2 separate regions of the Homo sapiens genome follow, and region 1 is linked to region 2. Evidence: promoter capture Hi-C in human tissues and cell types (Jung and others, 2019). All regions are on one chromosome and are shown on one strand. The core of a region is centred on a gene start or on the middle of the fragment in contact, and the rest is flanking DNA. Distances in the headings are between cores, read along the strand shown. Region 1 has its middle 5.2 kb from the start of SLC6A17. Region 2 holds the start of ALX3 (ALX homeobox 3).

Region 1 (4,165 bases), core at 1,334-3,833, 75 kb after region 2:
CATGGAGATGTGGGAAGGGCTGCCACATCCAAGCTTGGCACCAGGTGGGCCACGGGAGAAGGGGCAGCTGCCCACTCTCTCCTGAGTCTGCCCGAGGAAGTCCCTGTCCCCTTTCAGATTTTCACTGCTCCCCGCTCAACACATGGCTCATGTTGGGACAGGTGACCTTCTGGACAGCCTGGCTTGCAATGCAGAGCTCCCTCTGTGGGATCAAAGTTCTGTTCCATCCACACAGGATCCCTGGATGAAGAGCTGTGACCTGAAGCATCCCTCCCCGCCGCCCCCCGCCTTCCAAGCTCCTGATCCCGCCCCTCACAATGTTGTCATCTTCATCATCATCATCACAGCAGCAGCAGTTTACATATATTGAGTCCTCGCAGTGTGCCAGGCTGCTGTTATAAACGTGTTGCTTGGAAAAATCTCATTTATTACTCAACACCCTGTGAGGGAGGGAACTGTTATTATCTCCATTCCACAGGTGAGGATATGCAGGCCCTGAGACATCCCAAGCTGGTAATAATGGGGTGAGACGATGAACGCTGGCACCTCCACTCCTGAGCCGAGTTTTTAACCACATCCTCAGTGTGCTGTCTTACCATGCTGCCCCCTCGTCCCTGCCTCTGAGAGCTGAAGCTTCATGTCTCCTCATTTTCCAACCCAGGATGGCAAATGTGCTTCATTTCTTCTGCTGACTCCAACTGATTGGTGATGTAATGAGGCCAAGTAGGGTCTCAATGGGAAATCAAACCAAAATGTATTAGGGATGGTGGCCATGGGCAAGGAAAGGGAATGAAGGAAACTGAAGTGTCATGGATGTGGGTTAGCCCTGTAGAAGCATGGAGCTCATGTTCCAGGTCCCAGTTTCTACTTCCCCCAGGGAATGACACTGGCATTTGCCTCTTCCTTCAGGTAGAATGCCACCTACCCACACGGATCAGCTTTCTTCTCAGAGGCCACAAGAGGATAACCATATCTCAAGGCACCACACAGCCGAGCATTCATTCTACAGATACATTTATACGGTAACGATGGTGGCTGGGGACTTTCTTATCAGCTGTGTTTGAGATTTTGAATGCTAATTTGGTGAGGTTTACTCATCCTCTTTGCTGATCTAACACAATCTAGGAGGATGGGGTTCTTATGATGGCTATGGGAAGAGGCCCCTCTTACTGCTTACTGGGTGAGGGAAATCTCAAAGGTGTGGAGGAGCAGGTGGATAAGTGGTCCCCGGTCATCTTGCTACTTCCACACTTATTCAATGATTACATGGCTGTTCTGGTTATTTATTGCTGCATAACAACTCGTCCTACAGTGTAGTGGCTTAAAACAACAGTCATTTTTTCTCCCTTGTGGTTTCTGTGGGTCAGGCGTTTAGGAAGGACTGAGGGGCAGTGGTTCTGCTTCATGCAGTGTCAGCTGTGAGGCTTGGCTGGAGGCTGGAGGAGCTGCTTCCAAGATAACTCACTCACATGGCTGGCAGGTTGGGGATGGTTGTAGGTCAGGAGCTCAGCCAGGGCTGTGGGCTGAGGGCCTCAGTTTCTCTCCCATGGGCCTCTCCATAGGCTGCTTGGGCTTCCTCACAGAATGGTAGGTGGATTCCAAGAGCAAGCATACCAAGACAGAGATAATGGAAGCTACTGTGTTCTTATGGTCTGTGTCCAGAAACAAACATGATATTAATTATCTTGTTTACATAGTCTCAGAGCATAGATTCAAAGGGAGGGAATATAGACTTCACTTCTTGAAGACAGCATTGTCAAAGAATTTTGAGGCCATGTTTTAAAACACACACAGTGAGGAAACTCTAATAATTGTGCCACCAAGAACAAAGGAGAGGGTGTATCTCAGCAGCTGTATGTTTAAGACACTCAGAAACACAAACACGACTTAGGTGAATTGCAATTTGGGTTGTTTCCATGTCCTGGGAAAAGGCCAATATGTTCTCCTACATCTTCCTACTTAACATATTTGGGAATAGTATCTTTGAGGCTATGTAGCAGGAGATGAACATTAGGAACATCACTTCAATGCCTTTCTTTTCAGGAAAGCAGGCTTGAGTGGATGGGGGATAGCTGGGAAGGAAAGGTTAGCCAGTACACGTGTCTCCTCTTTCAAGGAGGACTAGTGCTGGGATGAGTGGATTAGGTCATCGTGTTGGATCCACCATGTTTGACAGGGTTGCCCAGTGTGTAAGCTTTGACTGAGCACCTACTGTATGTAAGTCACTGTGCTGGGGCTGTACGGCATGAAGCTATGAAGAAGAAAAGATCCCTCCCCTGTAAGGAATCACACTCTAATTTGAGAGGAAGGCATAGACACATGAAGGCAGACTTATGTTATAAAGCCCTAAAGGTCGGGATTGAGAACAAGGACTTTAGACCCAGGATGCATCTCACTGTATGGCTTGGACAGATTATTTAACCACACTAAGCCTTGATTTTCCCTTTAGTGAAATGGGAATTTGAATAATACTGACCTTATAATATTACACTGTATAAGTTTATGTATTTCCATATGCCATAGAAAAGGAAGAATTTGTTTTCTAGATGCTCAGAGGAGAGTTGGCCACTGACAGCTGGAGTGTTCAGGAAGATTTCATGGTGGAGGCCTTTCTTCCCATTTCCATCTCAGCCCCTTCCTGTGGCTTCAGGCCCACCTCCCCATGAGTGCTGTCATCGAGGACACCTCTCAGGCTTCATCTTTTTAACTTTGCTGCAGATTTCAACACTGTGAACTACCTTTCCTTCTTACAATTCTCTTTCTTTTGTGATACATGTCATCTTCTCAGCTCTTGACTCTTCTCTGTCTTCTTTCCTGCCCCTCCTGCTCCTCAGAAATAAGCATGTCCTGCCAAGCCTCTATCCTCATGACCATCTTCTGTGTGCTTCCTCAAGAGAGTCTCGCCTTCCCCCAAACCCTTTATGGTTATGACTTCCAAGTGTGTGTCTCCTGCCCTCTTTCCTGGACTTTCTACTCATATTTCTAACCACACCTTAGGTATTCTTTCATCAACTATTTTTTTTCACATTGTTTTTCTTTTTATTTAAACAAGGTTGAACTTACAAATCAAAGCAATATGGGAGTGATTTTAGACTAGCAATATTATTTTTAGTTATTCAGATTTCATCAACTATTTATGGACAGTCTACTGTGTGTTAAAGTTGGGCATGGCCTCTGTCCTGTGGAGCTTCCACATCAACCAAGGAGACTGTCCCTAAGCAACCAGTCATGCCCTCAGTACTTAATTACAATTGTGACAAGGGCTAAAAAGGAGAAGAAAAGTCCAGCTGGGAGGTTGACCCAGTTCTTCTCCATGGTCAGGAGAGGGTCCAGTTCATGGTGAACTCTGTTGGACGAGTGGGCAGGCAGTGAGGGAAGAGAACAAGGGGGACTGAGCAGATCCCTGTCAGGGCTTATGGGCTAAAGTCTGAGTCAGGAAGGAGTGGGGGGGGTAGGAAGAGCTGAAAGAAGGGTGGTGTATTACAGGGAAGTCCATGGGGGGAAGGGTGTGAGATGAGGCTGGAGACAGGGAAGGTCCCTGAAAGACATGCTAAAGATGTGGGTGCAACTCTGCAAGCTTAAAAAGGTTGTGATTATATTTGTACTTCTAAAAGATCACTCTTGCTGCTATGTGGAGAGAAGGGAGTAAGACTGGAGTTAGTGTCAAGAGGGGACTGTGAGTCCAGGTGAGTGATTATTATAGTTTGGAATAGGCAGTTGGGGGCGGGAGGTGGTGGCAGCAGAATTAAAGAGAAACGACCAGATCCCAGAGGTATGTAGCAACTAAGATCTCCAGGATTTACTGATAGATTTTATGAAAGGGGAAGTCTCAAGGGTGATTATTGGGGTTTTGGCTGGCTCAACTATTCACAGAGCCAGGGAGCACAGGAGGAGAAGCAAGAAGCCAACTGCTGAATGTTCTGCAGGGTAGATCTTTGAATGTTGAGTTCATTTCTTCAACATGTGTAGCTCTGTGGAGCCAAGTGGAAAGGTGGAGTTGGAGGGTGAATATGTGGAGCTCAGAAGACTGTCTGGAATGGAGACAGACATGCAGAAGTCATCAGTGTAGGAGATGGTCTAGGAAGGGTACAGAGTGAGAAGAGGGTTTGGCTGCGAGACGTCCAACACTTAAAGATCAGCAACGGAAACTGAGGGGTGAGCAGAA
Region 2 (4,041 bases), core at 1,188-3,687:
TCGTGTGGACTGGAAACGCTCCGAGCCGGTTATTTTAAAAACCGGGAAATAAGGCGGGTTCCCTCTTCGCCCGCCACTTCCCACCAAGTAGGCTGTGCGGCCCTGGGGGCTGACTGTCCTCAAGCAGCCAGGCTCCACCGCGCGCCGCGCTGCGCCGAGGTCCGCTCTGCCGCAGGGACGCTGGCAGCCCGTTGAACACCGGCAAGAGCGCCAGAGGCTAGCGGCCGCCAGGATCTCTACCAGGCTCTGCTCGCACCCGCCTGCCTCCCTTTCGTTTGGCCTGTCCTCCGTTCAACTGAAATCGTTAATTTTCTTACCCCCTTGTTCTCATTTTGATATATTCTACGCTTTAAACATGCTCCGTTTTCTTTTGTTTAGTCTGCTCCCTCCCTCTTTGTCCTTTCCCCCTTCTCTAGTTATCCGTTTCGTTCGATCTTGCTCCTGCTTTTTTTATTCGTTCGTTCCTCATTTATTCATTTTAGTTCATCCCAGCTCGCCGACTGCCATTTACCCTCTCGTTCTCGCCGCGCTCTCCGTTGTTTTGTTCAATTTCCCTTCCCCTTTTCTTGGTTGTCGCTCGCTTTCTTTGGTTTTCTTTCTCGGTATTTCGTTGTCAAGGCCACCCTTGCCGTCGGATCCCGGGGTGCTGGGTTTCTCCCGGCCGCTCGTTCCGCACCAGCGCTCTCTGCAGTTCGCGCGGCACCGGTGTGGTCCGGGGGCCCGAGCTGTCGGTGCCGGATGCGGCGCGCCTAGCAGGGACGCGGGCCTGGGGGGGTGGCTCCTGCCCGACGCGGAGCGCTGAGCCAGGCCGGGTACCTGTCTCTGGCGGTGCTCACCGCACTGCGCGGCCTCTGCCGTCTGGCTGGGATCAGAGGAGCCAGGCCAACTGCTTCTCATTAAGTCCCAACTGTGGTTTTTATCAGGAAAGCCTCTTTCAAAGGGCACAGACACGAAGCTCCGCGGACTCGTTCATTTCCTCCGTTGACCCACACACACCTCCCCGCCCTCCCCTACACATTCCCACCGCCCCGGCTGGGCGAAAGCCGGAGATGCCCGGCCACTCCGTGGAGGCCCGCGAGGCGCCAGCCGGGCGGCGGCAGGGGGTTGAGGCGGATCTTGGAGGATCCAGTTCTGGGCCTAGGCTGCGGGATATGGCAGCGCAGATAAGGTGGGTGCAGTGCGGAAGCCGAGACGCCTTACAGGTCATAGGGTGCGGCGGACGGCCGCAGAGCTGCCGATCAGCCTGCCAGGCCCCTGCCTTCAGGCGCATTCTCGGATGCCGGCGCGGTCCAGCCGGCCTTAGCACAGGGCACCGGCCCGTGAGCCCGCGGCGCCAGGGGGTTAGGCTGCCCAGGGCTGCTCCTGACTGCCCAGCGGTGATGATCCAGCGCGGGGAAGCCAAGACTGCCAGAAGGGCGGCTATCATAGTGCATAACGGCAGGGAGGCCAGCTTAGTATGAGAAATAAGAATACAGTTATTCCGTCTTGAGGACAGCCCTGGCATTGCACGACCAGTCGCGGCCAGACTGTGCCAGTCTGCCGCACAGGCAGCACCCTTCCTGTGAAGGCTAGGCCCGGGGAGGAGAGACGGGCCAAGACCAGGCCGCAGTCCCCAGCCGACCCCGATTTGACCACTCTAGGTTGAGGCCCAGCCTCAGGGCCCTCAAAGGGCGCCAGACACAAAAGCCGCGCTTCTTCGTCAGGTCTCAGTGTGGCTCCACAGCCCTCGGCCGGGTCTGGGCTTCAGGGTAGGTGGCAGTTCCAGTCCAACTTCGGCAGAGCATGCTCTCTCCTTCCCAGGTCCAACTGCTTTCGGGCCCCGACTGGACTCCGGGCCGTCGCCACTGCACCTTCCCTCGACCTCCCGCCTTCCATTCCCGCCGCCGAGGAACGGTGGTTCACCCTCCCGCCCCACACTGGCCTTTGCCTGGCCCGGGCCAGCGCCAACCCGGCTTCCGTGGAAGCCGTGGCGAAAGGCGAGAGGGGCAAAAAGTTGAGAAATAGGCGAGCGGGAGAGATAAGCAGGAAGGCCCGGGTGGGCCCGGGTAAGGAAGAAGAAGAGAGGGTCGGGCTGCGCGCTACGCCCCGCGCCGCGCGTTACCTTCCGCGGGGCCCTCGTAGAAGTGGCCGCCGTTGAGGGCCGGGCCGGGCCCGAGGTCCTGCAGGTACTTGGCGGGCGGCTTGGCCGGCTCTGGGAGGTAGGGCTCCAGGGGCCCGCAGGCCGGAAAGCGGGTCAGCCGCGGGCCGCGGGGCGGCGCGGGGTGCAGGTGAGGCGCAGCGGCGGGGGTTCCCTGCGGGCCCGGAGGCTCGTCCCCCGAGGCCACATAGGGGCCGGGTGCAGGCCCCACGCGGAAAGGCGCGCAGTGCTCGGGGTCCATGCCGGCTCAGGGCGCACAGGCCTCCGGGGCTCCGGGGCTCGCGCTGCCCGCGCCGCCTGTGAGCGCCCGCCAAGGGGGAGGGACCTGGGCGCGGGGGCGCGGAGCCCCCGGGAGCGGCGCGCGCCGCGGGGGGCGGGGGGCGGGGGGCAGGGGAGGGGGCCGCGCCTCTGACTTAATGCTGGAACCATCCACGTCACGTGTGGCCCCGTGCGGGTTAACCCCTCGGAGCCCGGGAACCCCCTCCCCCCATTCACCCAGAGCCCAGTCCCAGGCAGCTCAGGAGAGGATGAAGCAGCTTCCTCTCTAGGGCAGGATCCCTTTGTCTACCCATCCAGGTGAGTCTCTTGCTCAGAGCAGCACCCGTGGTCCTGATATCCAGCCTAGAGGCACTTGCCCCTAGAGGGGTGAGGCCGTGTGGGCATCCCCCCCAAACACTTTTGGGCCTGGACTCTGGACATCAGCCTGGGATGAGGGCCTGGGCGGGCAGACAGGCAGGCCTTAGGCTGCAGTTTTACTTAGGTCTCCGCTAGGAGCTGGACAAAATGTTGCCTCAGCAAAAAACACCTCCCTTAGAGATCTCTTGTTTCTCACAGTGAAAGGAGCTATTGGGAGTGTTGTGTGGAAGCAGATCTAAGCTGGGAATGGGGTGCTGGGGAGCTTGGACCTGGACACTATCATTAATTAGCTATGGTTCCTTGCGCCAATCATTAGTGTCCTCATCTGACTGTGGAGGTCGGGCCAAGCCAACCCTGGGTCTTTCTATGTATTTGAGGTGTGTTTCAGAAGTAGAGACAGGGCCAGAGCAGACAGGGAGACTCCCATGGGCAGCTCAGGACTGAACAGTGTCCTGCAGGGGCAGCCTTTGGAACAGGTGGAGGATGAGCAGAAGGGCTGGTGTTTCCTCTGGCAGCAGCTTGGAGTGAATGCGTTTCAGTGGGCAGATGACCCAAGTGTCTGGGGACCCACTGGAGAGACTGTCTGCAGCTCGGACCTCAGGGCTGTGCTCCCCCAGGCCTGACGATTCAGAAGGGATGAGGGTAGAACTGCATCTTCTAAGAGCTGAGTCTCCCCAACCAAAAGGAGACAGGATTAGAGCAGTAGCTTAGAATTTCAGAAAAGAGAAATAACCACCACCCTACCTAAGATCTGGGGAGAAATACCCAAGGACCCGAGGACCCTGCTCACTTCCCATGGATTGAGGAGCCCGTGGGGCTGCGTTAAACTGTTTTTATTATCAATGCCCCCGGAGACTAGCAAGAGAGGTGGGGAGTCAAACATCATTTGTATTTCATTTGAATTCTCAATTTTTAAAGGAATCCAAGAGGCCTGGTGTGAACACCTCCCTCTTCCGCTGGGGGCTTAGAAGGGGTTTCTTGGCTCCTCAGCCAGAGTTGGGCTGTAAATCAAGACCAAACAGGAACCAGAAGCCTTGCATCTCACAAGGAGTCATTAAGCCGTTATTAAACATACCATAACTTCTCTGAAGACTTATTGGTTTCAACACCACCTTGGAGGCATTATGGCCATTAGGGCCCCTAATCACGGAATGCAGACTGGCCAGAGAGATGGGAGCACCTGGGGCTGGTATTTCTAGTCAAGAGGGAGGCTCGGCTTGAAATTAAGCTTCCCTTCTGGCCTCACCAGAGGGATCCTTTCTCCAGGA

What was found. Contacts are between HindIII fragments. The study calls those that stand out against the background at their distance.
Region 1: a fragment that was not itself captured here is called in contact with the fragment with the promoter of ALX3 in region 2 in 2 of the 25 tissues and cell types used here (mesendoderm cells and thymus).

Annotation. Positions count from the first base shown.
Region 1 is chr1:110,143,177-110,147,341 of GRCh38, forward strand. No RefSeq gene overlaps it. Among named protein-coding and RNA genes, the nearest start is that of SLC6A17, 5.2 kb to the right of the region's middle. The HindIII fragment of the contact is 4,500 bases long and covers 334-4,165 here.
Region 2 is chr1:110,068,235-110,072,275 of GRCh38, forward strand. ALX3 (ALX homeobox 3) reads right to left here and starts at 2,438. Exons shown (of 4, transcript NM_006492.3): 1 at 2,102-2,438. The coding sequence starts at 2,378. The HindIII fragment of the contact is 7,804 bases long and covers 1-4,041 here.